Regions from separate parts of the Homo sapiens genome. Here region 1 is linked to region 2. The links are contacts of gene promoters, found by promoter capture Hi-C in blood cells and fetal thymus (Javierre and others, 2016). All regions are on one chromosome and are shown on one strand. Each heading gives the region's core, a stretch centred on a gene start or on the middle of the fragment in contact. The rest is flanking DNA. Distances are from core to core; before and after follow the strand shown. Region 1 overlaps CAMK2B (calcium/calmodulin dependent protein kinase II beta). Region 2 holds the start of DDX56 (DEAD-box helicase 56).

The links. The method cuts DNA at HindIII sites, captures the fragments that hold promoters and counts their contacts. A CHiCAGO score of 5 or more calls a contact.
Region 1: a contact is called between a fragment that was not itself captured here and the fragment with the promoter of DDX56 in region 2, in 1 of 17 cell types (endothelial precursors). The highest score is 5.8, in endothelial precursors.

What each region holds. Positions count from the first base shown.
Region 1 is chr7:44,285,315-44,290,326 of GRCh38, reverse strand. All of the region lies in intron 1 of CAMK2B (calcium/calmodulin dependent protein kinase II beta), which reads left to right. Among named protein-coding and RNA genes, the nearest start is that of CAMK2B, 38 kb to the left of the region's middle. RefSeq lists enhancers at 1-381, 1,078-1,720. The HindIII fragment of the contact is 7,022 bases long and covers 1-4,851 here.
Region 2 is chr7:44,572,594-44,577,658 of GRCh38, reverse strand. DDX56 (DEAD-box helicase 56) reads left to right here and starts at 3,751. Exons shown (of 14, transcript NM_019082.4): 1 at 3,751-3,823; 2 at 3,915-4,076; 3 at 4,609-4,769; 4 at 4,915-5,065. The coding sequence starts at 3,764. RefSeq lists an enhancer at 3,985-4,134. The HindIII fragment of the contact is 6,359 bases long and covers 2,394-5,065 here.

The DNA of each region.
Region 1 (5,012 bases), core at 91-2,590, 280 kb after region 2:
AGCGCCTGGCCCGCGTGGGGAGCGTCAGACGCAAAAACTGGATGGGAAATTTCGATTTACAAAACAGGTCAGCCAGGCTTGGATCTTTTGCTTTTACTCAGGGCTCCTCAGCTTCTTTCTAAAATTCTAAAATTTAAGAACTTCCTGGAATTGCGTGTGGCCTTGCTGTGGATTGAAGGGGTCCCATGGCCCTTGGCTGTCACTGTTGTTGGGAATCTGAGGGGGCGTTTCCAGCCTATTCTGCAACATCTGAGTGAGGAGAGTGCACATGTGTGTGTGCGCATGCCTGTGAACTGCAACCGACCGGTGAGGCTCAGGACTGATGCAGGCAGCCCTGGCTGGGGTGGCACAGGCCCCAGCACTTGGGGAGGAAACTGGATGGTGTGGACATGGGCTGCGGGAGGCAGAGAGAGGAACAGGGAGAGAAGCTGCTGCCTCTGAAATTTCCACTAAGGGAACGGAATCCAAGCGTTGAGTGGGCCGACTCAGAGGCCGCTTTGATCCTGCGTGGCCCAGCGCTGCCCTGCGGGAGCTCAGCAGCCTGTCATGGGGATCACATGCACGATCACTCCAGGCGCCTGGGTCCCTGCCTATGCTGTCCTGGGAGCAGAATCACACTGCCGGCTCTTTCTGGATGCCGGATACTGTGTTGTGGCTGGTACCTGTGTCACCTCATTCTGTGTAGGGGGACAATCACTGCCCCCTTACTGATGGAAGTCACCAGCCCTTGTGAGGTGGCTGGGGAGGGCACCTGAGCAAGGTCTGCGTGACCACACGGGATAGGCTGTGGGGACGCAGGGTCCGACCTTCCCTCCCTGGTGTCGTTACCAAGTGTCTTAACTGGCACCCCAAGAGCCGGTAATCTTGGTAACCCCCAGTCTTCACCAGTGAAGGTGAGGCATGAGAGGGCCCTAGAGGGGCTGTTGTGTGGTCCTGCTGGGGGCAAGGCGAAATTTCCTTCCTGCTCTCTGGGCCCTCCCACAAACTCCAGCCATGCTGCTCAGGGACACACCTCCTCCCAGCTCTCCGGGGAGAGGTGCGGGCAGCTGGCGAGGGCCGCAGTGCGACCAGCATGACTTAGTGGAGAGTGGGGCAGGCCACAGAGCCACCTGCGGTGGGGAGCTCCGTGGGGGTTGGTGGGAGCCACGGATAGTCAGCAACTGGTGGCCGGTTGCAAGTGGGGACTGGAGGGAAGAGGCAGGCACGAGGGTTGGGGGGGCAGCTCAGAGCTGGGAAAGCCTGGGCCTGCACCAGCAGTCTGTTGTGGAGCCAGAGGAGCCATAGACTGGATGCGAGGAGGAGACAGAGGCGGATGGGGCATCCTGCAGACAATGACGCTTCCTGCTGCCTCTGCCTGTGAAGCCCCGAGAGCCCACAGGATGCCTGTGAAACACCGACTGCCCTGGGTGGCTGCAGTCAGGGGAGGTACACTCAGCACCTCTCCTCGCAGGTGGCCTTCACCCCATTATCGCGCGAGAAGCCTGAGCCCCCCTGCAATGAAGGAGGTGCCCGAGCAGGTGCAGTCGTAGAAACAGGCCATGTAGTTCCGGGCCTCCATTCCCACCCAGAACTAATTCTTCCCCTTCTCTCTCAGGACAGGTTTCCCTGGTACTGTTGATCCCACTGTAAATGAGACAGGGTTCAGAGCCTTCCACAAAGCAAGGACTCAAAGAGTATTTTCTTGTTTTAATTAGCTTTATTTGATTTTAAAAGCCCCATAATATGCTTGGTGCCCGGGGGCCTCATGATCTGAACAGGTTATTCAAAATCGCTTTCAGCCTGGCTCAGTAGCATTCGTCCCATGCAGGCCATCATGCGGGCAACCTTGATGTCTAGATGCAATTCGCAGCCCACAGGAACAGCGACCTGGGATCCCGTAGGAGCACCTCTTCCGGCTTTTTCCTGCCTTTGCCCCAACCCGCTGTGCCCTTACAGCTGCCTGGGATGGTCCACACCCTAGAGGCAGGCGTGTGATCAGCCTATGCACCTGCAGTGTCATCCAAGGCATTCTTTGCTGAGCCCAAGGACCATGCTGCCGCCTGCTAGGCCCGCCCGTGCTTCCAGATAAGAAGACCGGGCTTCGAGCCTCTGTGCGCTGGTGGAGAGGCGGGGAGCCTAAGCCCCAGGCCTTATTTACTTGGGGTACCCCCTGGCTCTGACCAGGGCCTTGTGGCCTCAGTGTAGCACAGACCCATCTACCCACAGGCCCTGGAAGCCTTGGTGGGTCTCCCCTCCTGCTGGGACACTCTAGGGGCCGCTCTTCCTGTACTGCTGGGCTGGACAAGCCCTGAGGCCCAGCAACTCCATGCTCCACAGCCCACTGTGTTGCTTGTAGGTCAGTTCTGGCTCCTATATCACAGCCCAGGCACTGTGCCTGATACCTAGGTCCAGAGTATAGGGCACTCTGCCCATAGAGAGCCATTGGAAGGGGGAGTGGCAAAAGTGAACAGGTAGATAATTAAGTAAACTAACCTAAGGAACGTGGGAGGTGCAATATCTAAAGACCAAGCTGACTTTCTGTGTGAGCTGGGAAAGCGGGGAGCTGTTTGCATTGGATCTTGAAGGACGCATAGGAGTTTGCCCTTGGCAGCAGGGACAGGCTTATGATACAGATCCAGGCTCTTTGTCGGTGTTGTCTCTCAATGTTTATAAACACTGGCGGGCAAGCACTGAGTCGCAAGGGAGTATGGTGATGGTGCTGGCTTCTTTGCTCTTGGAGAAGTCAGAGATGTTGGGCCCCCAGCCATGGCCTGCATGGCTCATGCTAAACATGTTTGTGGCCACTTCTCAAGAGGGCTGACACTTCCAAGGGGGCTTCCCGTGACAGATTGCCGTCTGGCAAGTGGCAGAACCACCAGGAAGGGGAGGAGACAGAGGTGGATCTGCAGCTGCCAGCCCAAGTTCCCCGGGGAGATGGCAGGATGGGTGCGGGTGGACAGCCATTATGGGGAGGAGCACCTTTCAGGGTGCTCTTTAGGGGAAGTGGTGGGTAAAGCGGGCAAATAACTGGGGTGGGAGACTTAAGCATACATTCCTTAAGTCCCCCAGAGGAGAGAGGAGAGGGAGAAAATTGGGGGGCGGCGATGACATTGGGACTCAGAGAAGGTTTGGGGCTTCAGTGAGGGACAGAAGGCGTGGGAGAGGCAGAGCCCAGGAGCGGGGCGCAGGGAGCAGTGGTGTCCTTGGGAGCCAGCCCTCCTGCGCCTTCCCCCAGCTGGCCACCTTCTCCCTCTGGGGGCATCCAAGTCGCTGGGAAAGGGGACCCTGTCTTCTATTCTTGAGGGTGCCCTCCACCCTACCTGCAGGCCTGTGTCCAAGAGCAGGGCCTTCTTCACCCCCGGGCCCTGCACCCCTGGTCCCTGCACCCCTGGTCCCTTCCTGCTGAGTGTCTGCTGGGTGCCTGGCACTGTGCCTGCCACATCCTATGTCACTACAGCTGTGCGGCCTGGTGCTCCCACTCCACACTCATCCCGAGGCCCCCAGCCATGCCTTCCTCCTTCCTCAGCGGCGCTGCCTGGCCTTGGCCCCCTGGCTCTGGCAGTCTTACCTGTGTTCCCTGCCCCCGCCTTCCCCGATTGCTGACTGCTCCGACCTAGGCTGATGGTGCAGGGGCGGCTCTGGAGCCTTCTGCAGAGGAGAAAGGGGCTGCCTGACCCAGGGAGGGGAGAGGGATCAACTGGAGGAAGCCCTTGTCCCACCCACCTGCGGTCAGGCTCTTGGTGATATGGTGCATGGATGTCGTGTGCTGAGGAACAGCTGTGGCTTGCCGCCCTCTGCTCCGGTACCTGTCTGAGTCTGGCCAGCAGCTGGGAGCCTGCTGTGCTGGTGGGAAGCTGCGCTTGGGTCTCCTCCCTGCTCCGGGGACGGGCTCGACACAGCGGTGCCATACGGGCATCATCAGCTTGGCATAGATGTGCAGTCTGTTGAACTTCCTACTGAGGGTCAACCCTGCAGTGTGTGGTTGCGTTCTGGCGCACGGAGGCCCAGACTCCCTGCTCCCTTCAGGGCCTGGTCCAGAACACTCAGTGGAGGCCTGCCACGTCAGCCCTGTGGCCGCTGAGCCCTCTAGGGGTCAGAGCGTGACAGATGGTAGCTCAGGACTGGTTTCGGGAAGCTCTTACCTCTCCTGAGCAAGAAGTCCGGCAAACAGCCACACAGTGGCCCCGGAAGGCTCTTCTGCTCAGTCATATGGATGGGGAAACTGAGGCTCAGAGAGCTGTGTCACCCCGTCTAACCAGGATTGAAGCCAGACCAGGCAAAAAGCCCATGGTCTTTGCCCTCACCTCAGTCTCCCAAGTTAATGTCATATGTTAAAAATAATAATCCTTTCTTTATATTTTTCTTTAAAAACATTATGAGAACGTAACTGATGCACATGGTGAAAAAATCAAGCAGAGCAAGAGAATGCGGAGTGAACAGTGAACACCTCACCGTGCCCCCCCGCCGCGCCCCCCCGCCGCGCCCCCCACGCCGTGTCCCCCCCACACCGCGCCCCCTCCGCCGCGCCTCCCCCCCGCCGCATCTCCCACCGCTGGGTCTCCCCCCACATCTCCTGAGGCAGCCCCTGTCCCTGTTCACTGGTTGACTTTAAAAAGCGAAGACGCAGCTCAGTGGCCGCCCAAGCACAGTGACTGCTCTTGAGACCTGAGTCGTTAAGAAAATGTTCAATTAGATTTAGTGTAATTATTTATCTTTCCAAGGAATTGAACAGTACTCTTTTACAAAGATTTATCTCCACAAAGGACTGTAGATAAAACGGTGTTCGTATGTAAGACGCTCCTCTTCCACCACGCAGAGCCCTTGGCCTGGACTCCCATGTGGGTTTCTCAGGCTGTCCAGGCCGAAGAAGCTTTCTGGGAGGGGAGGCTGTTCCTGTAGGGGGGAGGCTGGGCACTTTGCAGGTGCAAACACAGGAGGGCCCTGCGTGCTCGGGTTTGCACGGGTGGGTGCCCACCTGGTGGTGGGCTTCCTCCAAGCCCCCCTTTCTCCCAGCCCCAGCCTGAGAGCATCCG
Region 2 (5,065 bases), core at 2,502-5,001:
GGCTAATTTTTGTATTTTTATTTTATCTTATTCATTTATTTATTTTTGAGATGGAGTCTCACTCTGTCGCCCAGGCTGGAGTGCAGTGGTGCAATCTTGGCTCACTGCAACCTCCACCTCCTGAGTTCAAGAGATTCTCCTGCCTCAGACTCCCGAGTAGCTGGGATTATAGGCGCCCGCCACCATGCCCAGCTAATTTTTGTATTTTTAGTAGAGACAGGGTTTCACCATGTTGACCAGGCTGGTCTTGAATTCCTGACCGCAGGTGACCCGTCTCGCCTCCCAAAGTGCTGGGATTACAGGTGTGAGCTGGCCGGGCACAGGTGATGGGGTCTTGCTCTGTCCCCAAGGCTGGAGTGCAGTGGTGCCATCACAGCTCAAAGCAACCTTGAGCTCCCAGGTTCAAGTGATCCTCCTACCTTACCCTCCCAAGTAGCTGGTACTACAGGTATACTCCACTGTGCCTGGCTATTTTTACTCTTAAAAATACATGTGGGCTGGGCACGGTGGCTCACGCCTGTAATCCTAGCACTTTGGGAAGCCAAGGTGGGTGGATCCCTATAGCCCAGGAGTTCGAGACCAGCCTGGGCAACATGGCGAAATCTTGTCTCTGCAAAAAATACAAAAAATTTAGCTGGTGGCACATGCCTATAGTCCCAGCTACTTGAGAGGCTGAGGTGGAAAGATCACTTGAGCCCGGGAGGTCAAGGCTGCGGTGAGCCATGATCGTGCCACTGCACTCCAGTCTGGGCAACAGTGATCCCATCTGAAAAAAAAAAACAAAAAAAAAAATGCAATTTAGGGCCAGGTGGGGTGGCTCACGCCTATAATCCCAGCACTTTGGGAGGCCAAGGCAGGGGGATCGCCTGAGGTCAGCAGTTTGAGACCAGGCTGGCCAACATGGTGAAAACCCCTCTCTACTAAAAGTATAAAAATTAGCCAGGCATGGTAGTGTGTGCCTGTAATCCCAGCTATTCAGGAAGCTAAGGCAGGAGAATCGCTTGAACCCGGGAGGAGGTTGCAGTGAGCAGAAATCGAGCCACTGCACTCCAGCCTGGGGGGCAGAGGGAGACTCTGTCTCAGAAAAAAAAAAAAAAATGCAATTTAGTTCTCTAGGCTTTTCCATTTAATAGTTTTATATCCTCCTGTTTCTAAATCTGGATGACAGTGTAACACTCCAGTAAGGTGAATTGTGAATTGCTGAAATTCTTCAGATGTTTAAAAGAGTTTTCAGTATTCCTCATGTTAGAATTAATGCAGAGAAAAATTTTATCCTTTGAACTAGTTACATGTTGTGGACTTCTGGCCTGAGGCTCTTGGGGATTATGTGACATATTGGGAAGGGACACATTTCTGCTCTGTGGCTGTTACTAGAAATCTAGCCAGCAAATCAGACTACGTTTGTGAGAAGACAGGAAGGCACAGATTAGGGTTGAGCCAGCCTTCAACAGGTTTGGCTGGCAGTAGACACAGTGGAGCACATCTTAACTATTTTGGTAGGTCCTGGGTTTCTCTTGGTAGTTTTTGATAGAAAGGGGAATGGTGTGAGGAAAAAGTGGGCATACATTTCACCTTTCCACTGATAAGGCAGGTGGAATTGGGATAGTCAGTGGATGGGCCAATAGCTGGTGGCTGTGAGAAGAATAAGGATTTCCATACTGGTGTGTCATATTTACAGATAGGTTGTGACCTAAAAAGTTTTTTAAAAAACAGCAGTTAGGGCCTGGGCGCGGTGGCTCACGCCTGTAATCCCAGCACTTTGGGAGGCCGAGGCGGGCGGATCACAAGGTCAGGAGATCGAGACCATCCTGGCTAACAACGGTGAAACCCTGTCTCTACTAAAAATACAAAAAATTAGCCGGGCGTGGTGGCAGGTGCCTGTAGTCCCAGCTACTCGGGAGGCTGAGGCAAGAGAATGGCGTGAACTCGGGAGGTGGAGCTTGCAGTGAGCTGAGATCATGCCACTGCACTCCAGCCTGGGCGACAGAGTGAGACTCCTTCTAAAAAACAAAAACAAAACCAAAACAGTAGTTAGGGTACACACACACAAATTCTAGTGATTTTCCCCCCAATACTACCCTTGACTTTTGAAATTCTTGCTTTCTCAGAGTTTACAACATCCTTACCAAACAGCCTTCTCCCTCCTTACCACAAAAAAAGAAAAAAAAGTTCTGGGGTTGAGGGGACACTCCATTCTTAACATCCTCTATTATCCCAGCCCAATTCCCCAGCTCTCACTGGGACTAGTTGTACCTATCTTCATCATTTGGTCCCAGCATGACTACCTGTTGGTGCATGAGCTGATCTCTCCTAACCTAACAGCCAGATGCTAGTCTCTGGTACTCAGATGCTGGGCTGCATCAGATAGGATGCACAGGATCATCCTGGAAGCTTGTTGACATAGATTCCTGTGCAACACTCAGATATAGTCTTAATGTAGATTTGTGTTGGGTGGTATGGTAGGTAGAATAATGGCCTACCACTCTGAAACATATGAATATGTTACCTAACATGACAGAAGAGAATTAAGTTGCTAATCAGATGACTGTAAAATAAATTATCCTGGATCATCTGGATGGGCCTAATGTAATCACAAAGGTTGTTTCCTTGCCTTTTCCAGCTTGGCTCTGGCTCCCTTCCTCCAGCAAGGGTGGGTTGAGCTCTCACATGGCACCACTTTGACCTCTTCTGCTTCCCTCTTCTACACTGAAAGACTTATGGGCCAGGAGCAGTGGCTCGCACCTGCAATCCCAGCACTTTGGGAGGCCGAGGAAGGCAGATCGCTTGGCCCCAGGAGTTCAAAACCGTCCTGGGCAACGTGGCGAAACCCCATCTAGAAAGAAAAGAAGAGAAGGGGAGGGGGGAGGGGAGGAGGAGTTACATATATACACATACACACACACACACACGTACGTACATACATACATACACGCTAACTGGACGTGGTGGTGCGTGCCTGTAGTCTTAGCTTTCCAGGAGACTGAGGTGGGAGGACCACTTGAGCCTGAGATCGCGCCAGCCTGGGTGACAGTCAGACCATGTCTCAAAAAAAAAAAAAGATTTGTGATTAGGATTCTTAGTCCTCACCTGTATTATTTTCCTATTGCTACTGTAACAAATTACCACAAATTTACTGGCTTAAAACGACGCAAGTCTGTAGGTCAGAAGTCTGACACGGGTCTTAACTGGTGACCCGAGTCAGATTTGGGACACAAAGAACAGAAACCAAGCTGTGCAGGTTTCTGACAGGCAGTCCGGTTAGGGAGCCCTACAGCAACCCGCCGGTCCTCTCTCTCAGGCAGTTGCTGCCATGGCTCATTATTCCAACCGGTTCTCCTCAGCCCAGTCTATCTCAGTGGCTCCATTCATAGGGTGATGTGCCCGGCGGGACACTAACCCTAACCAAGCAGAGAGACGGTCATGCCCGTCACGACCTCGGCCCTCGCCCCGGCCGAGGCTTCTCCTGCAGGTCGCGAGAATCAGGTGCGTCAGCGGCGTCCGGGAACGCCGGAAGAGCCAGTGGAGCGGCTCTGTAGTCCAAAGTACCCCGTCGACCCCAGCACGGCCGCTCCACCGCCTCCTACTAGACCCAGTCCTAGGGACTGCGCAGTCGCAGAGCTCCGTCCGAGTACCGGAAGCCTAGGCCGCCAGCACTTCCGGGAAGTGACTTCGTCTCCGAAGCCGATTGGTTGTTGCTTTGCTCCCGCTCGCGTCGGTGGCGTTTTTCCTGCAGCGCGTGCGTGCTGCGCTACTGAGCAGCGCCATGGAGGACTCTGAAGCACTGGGCTTCGAACACATGGGCCTCGATCCCCGGCTCCTTCAGGTACACGCGAGGGCTGGGGAGCCGGCTTACGGGCTCTGCGGGGCGCGCCATCGCTCTTCACGCCGCTTAAACCGCACTCCTGGTCTCCTAGGCTGTCACCGATCTGGGCTGGTCGCGACCTACGCTGATCCAGGAGAAGGCCATCCCACTGGCCCTAGAAGGGAAGGACCTCCTGGCTCGGGCCCGCACGGGCTCCGGGAAGACGGCCGCTTATGCTATTCCGATGCTGCAGCTGTTGCTCCATAGGAAGGCGGTGGGTAACGAGAGAGCTGAGGGGAGGAAGGAGGCAAGCTCCAAAAGCCTGGGAAGGGCGGTTCCCGTTTGTCTGAGGTTTTCTCTTGGCCCTGTACCCGTGCAGGCCGGCCTGAGAACCTGGTGCTGTTGTGGCAAACACTCTGGGCTGGAGTTCAGGTTACCTGGATCCTTGTCCGGCCCTGCTACCACCAACCTTTGCGTAATCTTCGACAAAGCACTTTCTTTTCTTTCTTACATAAAAAGGGAGCACATCTATCTTTTCTACTTACAGAATTATTGTGAGAATTTAGCTTCATAACTAGTATATTTAAAGTAGCTTCATAAACATCAGAGTACGTTATTCTTTTTGAGGGTCAGTGCCTGGGGAAAGAACTCTCCACTCTGCATTCTGAGGCGGGCAGAGTGATAGATGATCAAAGTACTGCTAAGTAGTGTTGCAGCAGATGGGTCAGGTAGGCTGGAAGGGGTAGAGACACGTGGACACAGTGATGTGCACTGCTGGCTAAAGTCTTTAATTCATATTCTTACAGACAGGTCCGGTGGTAGAACAGGCAGTGAGAGGCCTTGTTCTTGTTCCTACCAAGGAGCTGGCACGGCAAGCACAGTCCATGATTCAGCAGCTGGCTACCTACTGTGCTCGGGATGTCCGAGTGGCCAATGTCTCAGCTGCTGAAGACTCAGTCTCTCAGAGGTGGGTAAAAGCAGCAAAGCTGTACCTGAATGAAGCTACACAGTGTTGTGGGGTTGGGTTTGTGTGTGGCAAAAAAGAGAGCAAATCCAGGGTGAGATCCCAGCTGCTACATTCTGCCTGATACTGATGTCTTGTCCACCTCCAGAGCTGTGCTGATGGAGAAGCCAGATGTGGTAGTAGGGACCCCATCTCGCATATTAAGCCACTTGCAGCAAGACAGCCTGAAACTTCGTGACTCCCTGGAGCTTTTGGTGGTGGACGAAGCTGACCTTCTTTTTTCCTTTGGCTTTGAAGAA